Linked DNA regions of Homo sapiens: all the other regions are linked to region 2. Evidence: promoter capture Hi-C in human tissues and cell types (Jung and others, 2019). All regions are on one chromosome and are shown on one strand. The core of a region is centred on a gene start or on the middle of the fragment in contact, and the rest is flanking DNA. Distances in the headings are between cores, read along the strand shown. Region 1 has its middle 44 kb from the start of ZNF708. Region 2 holds the start of ZNF708 (zinc finger protein 708). Region 3 overlaps ZNF738 (zinc finger protein 738).

The links. Contacts are between HindIII fragments. The study calls those that stand out against the background at their distance.
Region 1: a contact is called between a fragment that was not itself captured here and the fragment with the promoter of ZNF708 in region 2, in 1 of the 25 tissues and cell types used here (aorta).
Region 3: a contact is called between a fragment that was not itself captured here and the fragment with the promoter of ZNF708 in region 2, in 1 of the 25 tissues and cell types used here (H1 embryonic stem cells).

The regions. Positions count from the first base shown.
Region 1 is chr19:21,284,532-21,287,285 of GRCh38, reverse strand. It overlaps the pseudogene COX16P1. Among named protein-coding and RNA genes, the nearest start is that of ZNF708, 44 kb to the left of the region's middle. The HindIII fragment of the contact is 4,282 bases long and covers 1-2,754 here.
Region 2 is chr19:21,328,016-21,330,715 of GRCh38, reverse strand. ZNF708 (zinc finger protein 708) reads left to right here and starts at 1,306. Exons shown (of 4, transcript NM_021269.3): 1 at 1,306-1,506. The coding sequence starts at 1,504. RefSeq lists a silencer at 993-1,214 and enhancers at 461-1,449, 1,334-1,513, 1,554-1,753. The HindIII fragment of the contact is 12,621 bases long and covers 1-2,700 here.
Region 3 is chr19:21,376,237-21,378,936 of GRCh38, reverse strand. The region is part of intron 4 of ZNF738 (zinc finger protein 738); the gene reads right to left. Among named protein-coding and RNA genes, the nearest start is that of ZNF738, 19 kb to the right of the region's middle. The HindIII fragment of the contact is 5,127 bases long and covers 1-2,700 here.

The DNA.
Region 1 (2,754 bases), core at 148-2,647, 44 kb after region 2:
TTTATCTTACAATTTCTCTCTTTGGACATTTAGTATTATGTTTAGTTAAGAATGAAGAAAGTGGTCATCTGCTCAGGAGTGGTGGCTCATGCCTGTAATCCCAGCACTTTGGGAAGCCAAGGCAGGTGGATCACCTGAGGTCAGGAGTTCGAGACCAGCTTGGCCAACATGGTGAAACCCAGTCTAACTAAAAATACAAAAATTAACTGGATATGGTGGCAGGTGCATGTAATCCCAGTTACTTGGGAGGCAGAGGGAGGTGAATCGCTTGAACCTGGGAGACAGAGGTTGCAGTGAGCTGTGATTGTGCCATTGCACTCCAGTCTGGGTGACAAGAGTGAGACTCCGTCAAAAAAAAAAAAGAAGAAAGAACAAGAAAGAAAGAAAAGGAAGGAAGGAGAGAGAGAAAGAAAGAAGAAAGAAAAGGAGAGAAGGAAAGGAAGAAAGGAGAGAGAAAGAAAGAGAAGCAAGAAAAGGAGAGAAGGAAAGGAAGAAAGGAAAAGGAAGAAAGAGGGCATCCCTGTCTTGTTCTAGGTCTTAGAGTAAGAGCTTACATTTCACTGTTTAATATGTTGTTAGCTGGACATTTTTTTCTATACATGGCATTTATTGGCTTGAGATGCATTTGTCCTATACTAATTATTTTTTAGAGATTATCATGAGGGAATGTTGAATTTTGTCAAACTTTTGTTTTTTTTTTTGGCTGGAGTTTCACTCTTGTCATCCAGGCTGGAGTGCACTGGCACGATCTCGGCTCACTGCAACCTCTGCCTCCCAGGTTCAAGCAATTCTCCTGCCTCAGCCTCCTGAGTAGCTGGGATTACAAGCGTGAGCCACCACGCCCAGTTAATTTTTGTATTTTTAGTAGAGACAGGGTTTCCCCACGTTGGCCAGGCTGGTCTCGAACTCCTGACCTCAGGTGACCCACCCGCCTCGACCTCCCAAAGTGCTGGGATTACAGGTGTGAGCCACTGCACCCAGCCAAATTTTGTCAAGCTTTTATTCTGCATCTATTTAAATGTTAGAGTTGTGATATCACAACTAATTTCACATAAATAGTAAACATCCTCAGAGACTACTATGCACATCTCTATGCATGCAAACTAAAAAATTTAGAGAAAATAGATAAACTCCTGGATACATCCAGCTTCTCAGCATTGAACCAGAAAGAAACAGAAGTCTTGAACAGAGCAACAATGTATAAAGTATATAATAAGATTGAATTACTAATAAAACAAGCTACCAACCATAGAAAGCCCTGGATAAGATGAGTTCACAGCCACATTTTATCACATATACAAAGATAACCTGGTATTAATTCTACTGAGTGTATTCCAAAAATCAAGGTGGAAGTCCTTCCTAAATTATTTGAAAACATTATTATCTTGGTAGTAAAACCTAGTGAAGACACAACAAAAAAGGAAAATTACCGGTCACTATTCTTGGTGAAAATTGAAACAAAAATTCATGAAGTACTAGCAAGTTGAGTTCATAAGCAAAGCAAAAAGTTATTTTGCCACAATCATGTAAACTTCATTGTATGAATGCAAAGATGTTTCATCATATACAAGTAAATAAATGTGATTCACCATGTAAAGATAATTTTTAAAAAACAATTATCACATGCAGAAAAGGCATTCAAGAAAATCTAATACTCATTTATAAAAACATTCTCAACAAACTAAGCACTGGAGAAATATGCCTGAAAATAATAAGAGCCATCCATGACAAATCCTCAGCCAACATCATACTGAGCGGGCAAAACCTGGATGAGGTCTCCATCAGAATAAAAATAAGGCTGGGTGCAGTTGCTCACGCCTGTAATCCCGGCTCTTTGGGAGGCTGAGGTGGGTGGATCACCTGAGGTCAGGAGTTCAAGACCAGCCTGGCCAACAGGGTGAAACTCTGTCTGTACTAAAAATACAAAAAATTAGCCTGTCGTGCTGGCAGGCATGTGTAATCCCAGCTACTCAGGAGGCTGAGGCAGGAGAATCACTTGAATGTGGGAGGCAGAGGTTGCAGTGAACTGAGATCATGCCATTGCAATCCAGCCTGGGCAACAAGAGTGAGACTCCATCTCAAAAAAAAAAAAAAAAAAAGACAAAGAGTATCCACTCTAAACACTTCTATTCAACATAGTCCTGAAAGTCGTAGCCACAGCAATTTAACAAGATAAAGCAATAAAATGTATTCAAATAGAAAAAGAGGAAGTCAAATTATCTTCACTGGTGATATAATTCTCTACCTGGGAAACTTCACCGAAAAAGATTTCACCAAAAGATTTCTAAGCCTAAAGAATGACTTCAGCAAAGTCTCACCATACTAAATCAACATACACAAATGAGTAGCATTTCTGTGCACCAATAATATTCAAGCTGAGAAAAAAAGAACATGGTTCTATTTACAATAGCTACAAACAAAAAAATATGTACCTAGTAATACATTAAATCAAGGAGGTAAAATATCTCTACAACAAGAACTACAAAACTGCTGAAAAAAAATAGAGACAACGCAAATAAGTAAAAAGGCACTCCATGCTCATGAATTTAAAGAATCAATATAATTAAAATGTCCGTGCTGCCTAAAGCAACTTACAGATTAAGTGCTACTTCTCTCAAACTATAAATGCAACTTTTTATGGAATTAGAAAAAGAAAACCATTCTAAAAGTCATATGGAAGAATAAAACAGCCCATTTAGCCAAAGCAACATTAACAACAAAGCAATCCTGGAGGCCTCACATTACCTGGCTTGT
Region 2 (2,700 bases), core at 57-2,556:
ATTGGGTTAAATTGTTACAATCAATTTCACCTGTTCTTTGTTTCTTTTTAAAAATAGAGCTAAACTCTTTTTAAAGTTTGGCTACAAATTAGCCGGGCATGGTGGCCAGCGCCTTTTATCTCAGCTACTTGGGAGGCTGAGGCAGGAGAATCGCTTGAACCCGGGAGGCAGAGGTTGCAGTGAGCAGAAATCGCGCCATTGCACTCCAGCCCAGGCAACAATGTGAGACTCCGTCTAAAAAAATAAAAATATAAAATAAAGTTTGGCTACTAGAAAATTTAAAATTTACATGTGGCTCACATTTTATGATTTTATTTTATTTATTTATTTTTTTTGAGACAGAGTTTCACTCTTGTTGTCCATACTGGAGTGCAGTGGCGTGATCTCGTCTCACTGCAACCTCCACCGCCCAGGATCAAGCGATTCTCCTGCCCCAGCCTCCCAAGTAGCTGGGATTACAGGCGCCTGCCACCATGCCCAGCTAATTTTTTTGTATTGTTTTAGAGACGGGGTTTCACCATGTTGGCCAGACTGATCTCGAACTCTGAACCTCAGATGATCCACCCTCTTCGGCCTCCCGAAGTACTGGGATTACAGGCGTGAGGTACAGCGCCCAACTTGTGGCTCACATTTTATTTCAGAGAATTGCCTCCTTTTTAAAATCTCAGGCTGCCTGCTCAAAGGACCAGAAGTCAGGAAGGTCACAAAATATAAAATTTTAGAACAGTTGGGCCGGGCGCAGTGGCTCATGCCTGTAATCCCAGCATTTTGGGAGGCCGAGGCGGGAGGATCACCTGAGGTCTGGAGTTTGAGACCAGCCTGACCAACATGGAGAAACCCCGTCTCTACTAAAAATACAAAAAAATTAGCCGGGCATGGTGGCGCATGCCTGTAATCTCAGCTACGCGGGAGGCTGAGGCAGGAGAATCGCTTGAACCCGCGAGGTGGAGGTTGCGATGAGCCAAGATCGCGCCATTGCACTCCAGCCTGGGCAACAAGAGTGAAACTCAATCTCAAAAAAAAAATTTTTTTTAGAACAATTGGGTTATTATATTCTTTTCATTTGTGAATAGCCATATAGCATATTATTTATAAGGGCATATGACCTTATACACAAGATTAAAGGCAAACACCCTCTCGGGTGGGCCTGGCTCAGCTCAGGGAGGAAGCCTTGCCTGAAAAGGCTGCAGCATAGGCTGTCACACTTCATTCAGCCCAGCATCTGATCACATCTTCCGTCCCTCAGGGCCTGAAGGGGCGGGTTTTAACATTATCCAATCAGGGACTCTGAGCTGGGGACAGTTCACTCAGACACGCAGCTGGACCGGACAGGGCGGCTTCCGGGTTTGGCGCGGCCTTTGTCTCTTGCTGCAGCCGGAGCTCCGGTCTCGTCTTCACTGCTGTTTGTCCTCTGCTCCTAGAGGCCCAGACTCTGTGGCTCTGTGACCTGCAGGTATTGGGAGATCCACAGCTAAGACTCCAGGACCCTCTGGAAGCCTAGAAATGGTGAGAGTGCCGTCCGACATCCCGAGAGAGGGGAAGGGCTGGTTGAAACCTGTGGGAAGTGGCTGTGGCGGGACTCAGGACTCCCCGCAGTCATCTCCACAATCTGCGCTCCGAGTTCTCCTTGCCTAGCTCGGCCTCAGTCCCCTTCAGCCATAAGATGGCGGCTGCGCCGACAGCCGGGCCCCCGGGCGTCCTGTCTCTTCCCTGCGCAGTGACTGTGCCCTGGCCTGCAGCCCTCTCTGGGCGGCTCTGCACCGGCAGCGCCGCGCCTCTCCCAGATTGTGCAGGGACCATGGGAGGGTGGTCAGGGGAGAATCCTGACTTGGGGTCGGGTTCATGAATGGGAAGAGCTTTGGTCTGTGGGGTTCCCGGTTCCTATTTTCTCCTATTAAAAATCTGTGGCAGTCATCGCAAAAAATATTAAAGAATTTAATCAAAGAGTGATTCAATAATTGTAGAGCACAAAAGTATGTTTTGTAGTTTGTGGTTCATGGGAGGAGCTTGAAGGAAAGACTTTTTATAAGGTGCATGATGAAGAAAACTATATTTAATAATCGGTTAGGTACATTTACGTAGCTGTTGCTGTTAAGTAGAAAGCCGGGGACTAGAGCCTCCTCAGTGTAATTGCCTGCCACTTAATTATTCTCACACTCCACAGGGGACTGATTTTCCCCTGCATTTTTCACATGCGTTCCAAGCGGGGTCTCAAGTGTACCTCCCAGCCCCATTCCTCCAGCCTAACTCTGGCCTGCAGTTAGATTTAAACTGCAAATAAACTAAAATACTAAATTTCTAGTTCCTTCTGACATTTCCAAATGCCAGCTTGCCTTTCCTAATTCACATTCTCAACTGTTTTTCCTTTAGTGTACATTTTTGATACTGTATTTTAGTTAATCATTTTTTGACAAAGCATTGGATGGCACTTAAAATTGTTTTCTGGTTGAAAATATTTCTCATGAGAAGAAAGCAAAAAATAATTCCCTGACACTGTATTTTATGAAATTTCTATGGCTTTTTTTTTTTTATCTTCCTCAGGCACAGAAATCTTATCAGAATGTTTGTTTTCAGGTGAAGGTTTTTCTTTGGAAACTTTACGGAGTGATGTGTCTTCAGCCACCCTTCAGTTTTTTCCTGGTCCTGGGTTTCAGTACTGTCTGGAGTAAACCAAGATACACATCATGACTTTTTCTGCTA
Region 3 (2,700 bases), core at 197-2,696, 48 kb before region 2:
AGAGAATCTCGGGAGCTGCAAGATAAAAGTGATGTGTTGGCTGGGCGCGGTAGCTCAAGCTTGTAATCCCGGCACTTTGGGAAGCTGAGGTGGGTGAATCACCTGAGGTCAGGAGATCGAGACTAGCCTGACCAACATGGAGAAACCCTGTCTCTACTAAAAATACAAACTTAGCTGGGTGTGGTGGCATATGCCCGTAATCCCAGCTACTCGGGAGGCTGAGGTAGGAGAACTGCTTGAACCTGGGACACAGCGAGGTGAAATCGCGCCATTTCACTCCGGCCTGGGGAACAACAGTGAAACTCCATCTCAAAAAAAAAAAAAAAAAAAGTGATATTATTTGCAAGAATACTCTTATGAGATAGCCAGTGGATTCTCAACAAAAATTTTTCAGGACAGAAGAAAACTGTGTGATATAGTGAAATCTGAAGAAAATAGTTATCAAGTGAGTATAATACCATCACCAAATCTGTCCTGCTAAATAAAAAGAAAACAAACTTCAAAAATAACCAAATTTTAAAAAGTATATTGGTACTTCCTTACATATAAAAGGTGCTGAAAACAGTTGCTTCCAATGAAAATAAGATGATTTAACAAAGCAACACAAAATCATATTAAAACACATTATTTTCTGGGAAAGATACGCACATACACAAAAATACATTTCTTAGCATTATCATAATGGCACAGAAGAAATTTTTAATTATTCCCCAAAATTTGAAAGATAAAGGCATAGAAATCATTATAAACATGTTAATAAATATACATATAAAAATATAATTAGCAACATCAAGAACAAATCTGAGAACATATGTAATGAGAAAAAATTTTTGCATGCAACAAAAGTTCATTTTTAACTAGACTGAAATACATTGTATCTCTTAAAGGTTTTATGTAATCCCCCACGTACCACAAAGAATATGCCTGTATAGACACAGAAAACAACATAAGAAAGAAGTAAAAGCATATCAAAGTAAAAATAAAACAGCCACAGAGAGAAACAAAGAGAGAAAATGTGGGACAAAGATGCAAGAATCAAATAGAACAACAAAAAAAATTAGTAAGTCTCTTTGTTTCAGAAAACTTTCCAATCAAGAGACATACTTTCAATAAAGAAATTTATTTAAAATTATTAAAAACCAAGATCCAATTTGCCTTTCTACAAGGGTCAGCTGACATCTAATGATTAAAAACATACTGAAGGTGGCAAGATAGATTTAGACATTGCATGCAAATATTAACCAAATGAGAGCAGAAGAGGTCAAAATAGTATTACAAAAGCCACATCTTAAGTCAAAAACTGTCATATCTTACATAAAGTACTTTAAGTCAAAACTGCAAAGAGACAAAGAAAGACATTAAACAATAATAGATTTATTAACTGGGAACCTATGACAAATTTTGTGTGTGTGTGTGTGTGTGTGCACGTCTGTGTGTCTGTGTGTATGTCACACTAAGGTTCCAAATATATAAAGCAAATATTGACAGACTGGAAGAAACACCTAGACAGCAATATAATTATAGTAGGAAATTTCAATACCCCACTTTCTGTAATAAAAATAAAACAAGACAGAATATTAGTAAGTGAAGAGAGGAACTGAAGGCAGTATAATACAATTTTTTTTTTTTTTAGATGGAGTTTGCTCTTGTTACCCAGGCTGGAGTGCAATGGCACGATCTCAGCTCACCACAACCTCCGCCTCCTGGGTTCAAGCGATTCTTCTGCCTCCGCCTCCTGAGTAGCTAGGACTACAGGCACGTGCTGCCATACCTGGCTAATTTTGTATTTTTAGTAGAGATGGGGTTTCTCCATGTTGGTCAGGCTGGTCTCAAACTCCCAAACTCAGATGATCCGCTCGCCTCGGCCTCCCAAAGTGTTGGGATTACAGGCATGAGCCACTGCGCCCAGCCTGTACAATTATTTTTAACAGAGAAATAGAGAAGAGTCCTCAAGAATATGAGGAAACACATCCTTCAAAATAGCTTATGCAACATTCTCTTTGATAGACCACCTGTTAGGCCAAAAACGGAGTCATAAAAATTTGTTAAATTTGACATTTTATGAATTACATCCTATGACCAAAATGGAATGAAAGTATAAAATAGAAAAAAAGGCTGGGTGTAGTGGCTCACGCCTGTAATCCCAACACTTTGGGAGGCCAAGGCAAGTATACTAAAAATCCAATTTTTTAATAAAACTTTTTATAAAAACATGAGTTTTTACTAAAAACTCTCATGGTGGTGCATGCCTGTAGTCTCAGCTACTCGGGAGGCTGACATAGGAGAATCGCTGGAGGCAGAGGTTACGATGAGCCAAGATGGCGCCTTTGCACTCCAACCTGGGCAACAAGAGTGAAACTCCATCTCAAAACAAAAAACAAAACAAAACAAAAAAACTACAATAAACTTTGAATAGCCAAAGCAATCTTGAGGAAAAAGAACAAAGCAGAGAGACATTATATTTTATAATTTCAGACTATATTTCAAGAATATACTAATAAAAAAAGATGGAATGTGCAGAAAATTAACATAAAAACCAATAGAACAGTGACCACTACTCTCACACATTTTAGACATGATGCAAAAGAGAACTAAAAAAATAGTTTAACATAAAGTTTCTCAAAATCATGCAGATATTTGTGTGTCCCCCAAAACAATGGAAATGCAGTCAGATTGTGCAGTCTTTTATATGCCATGAAG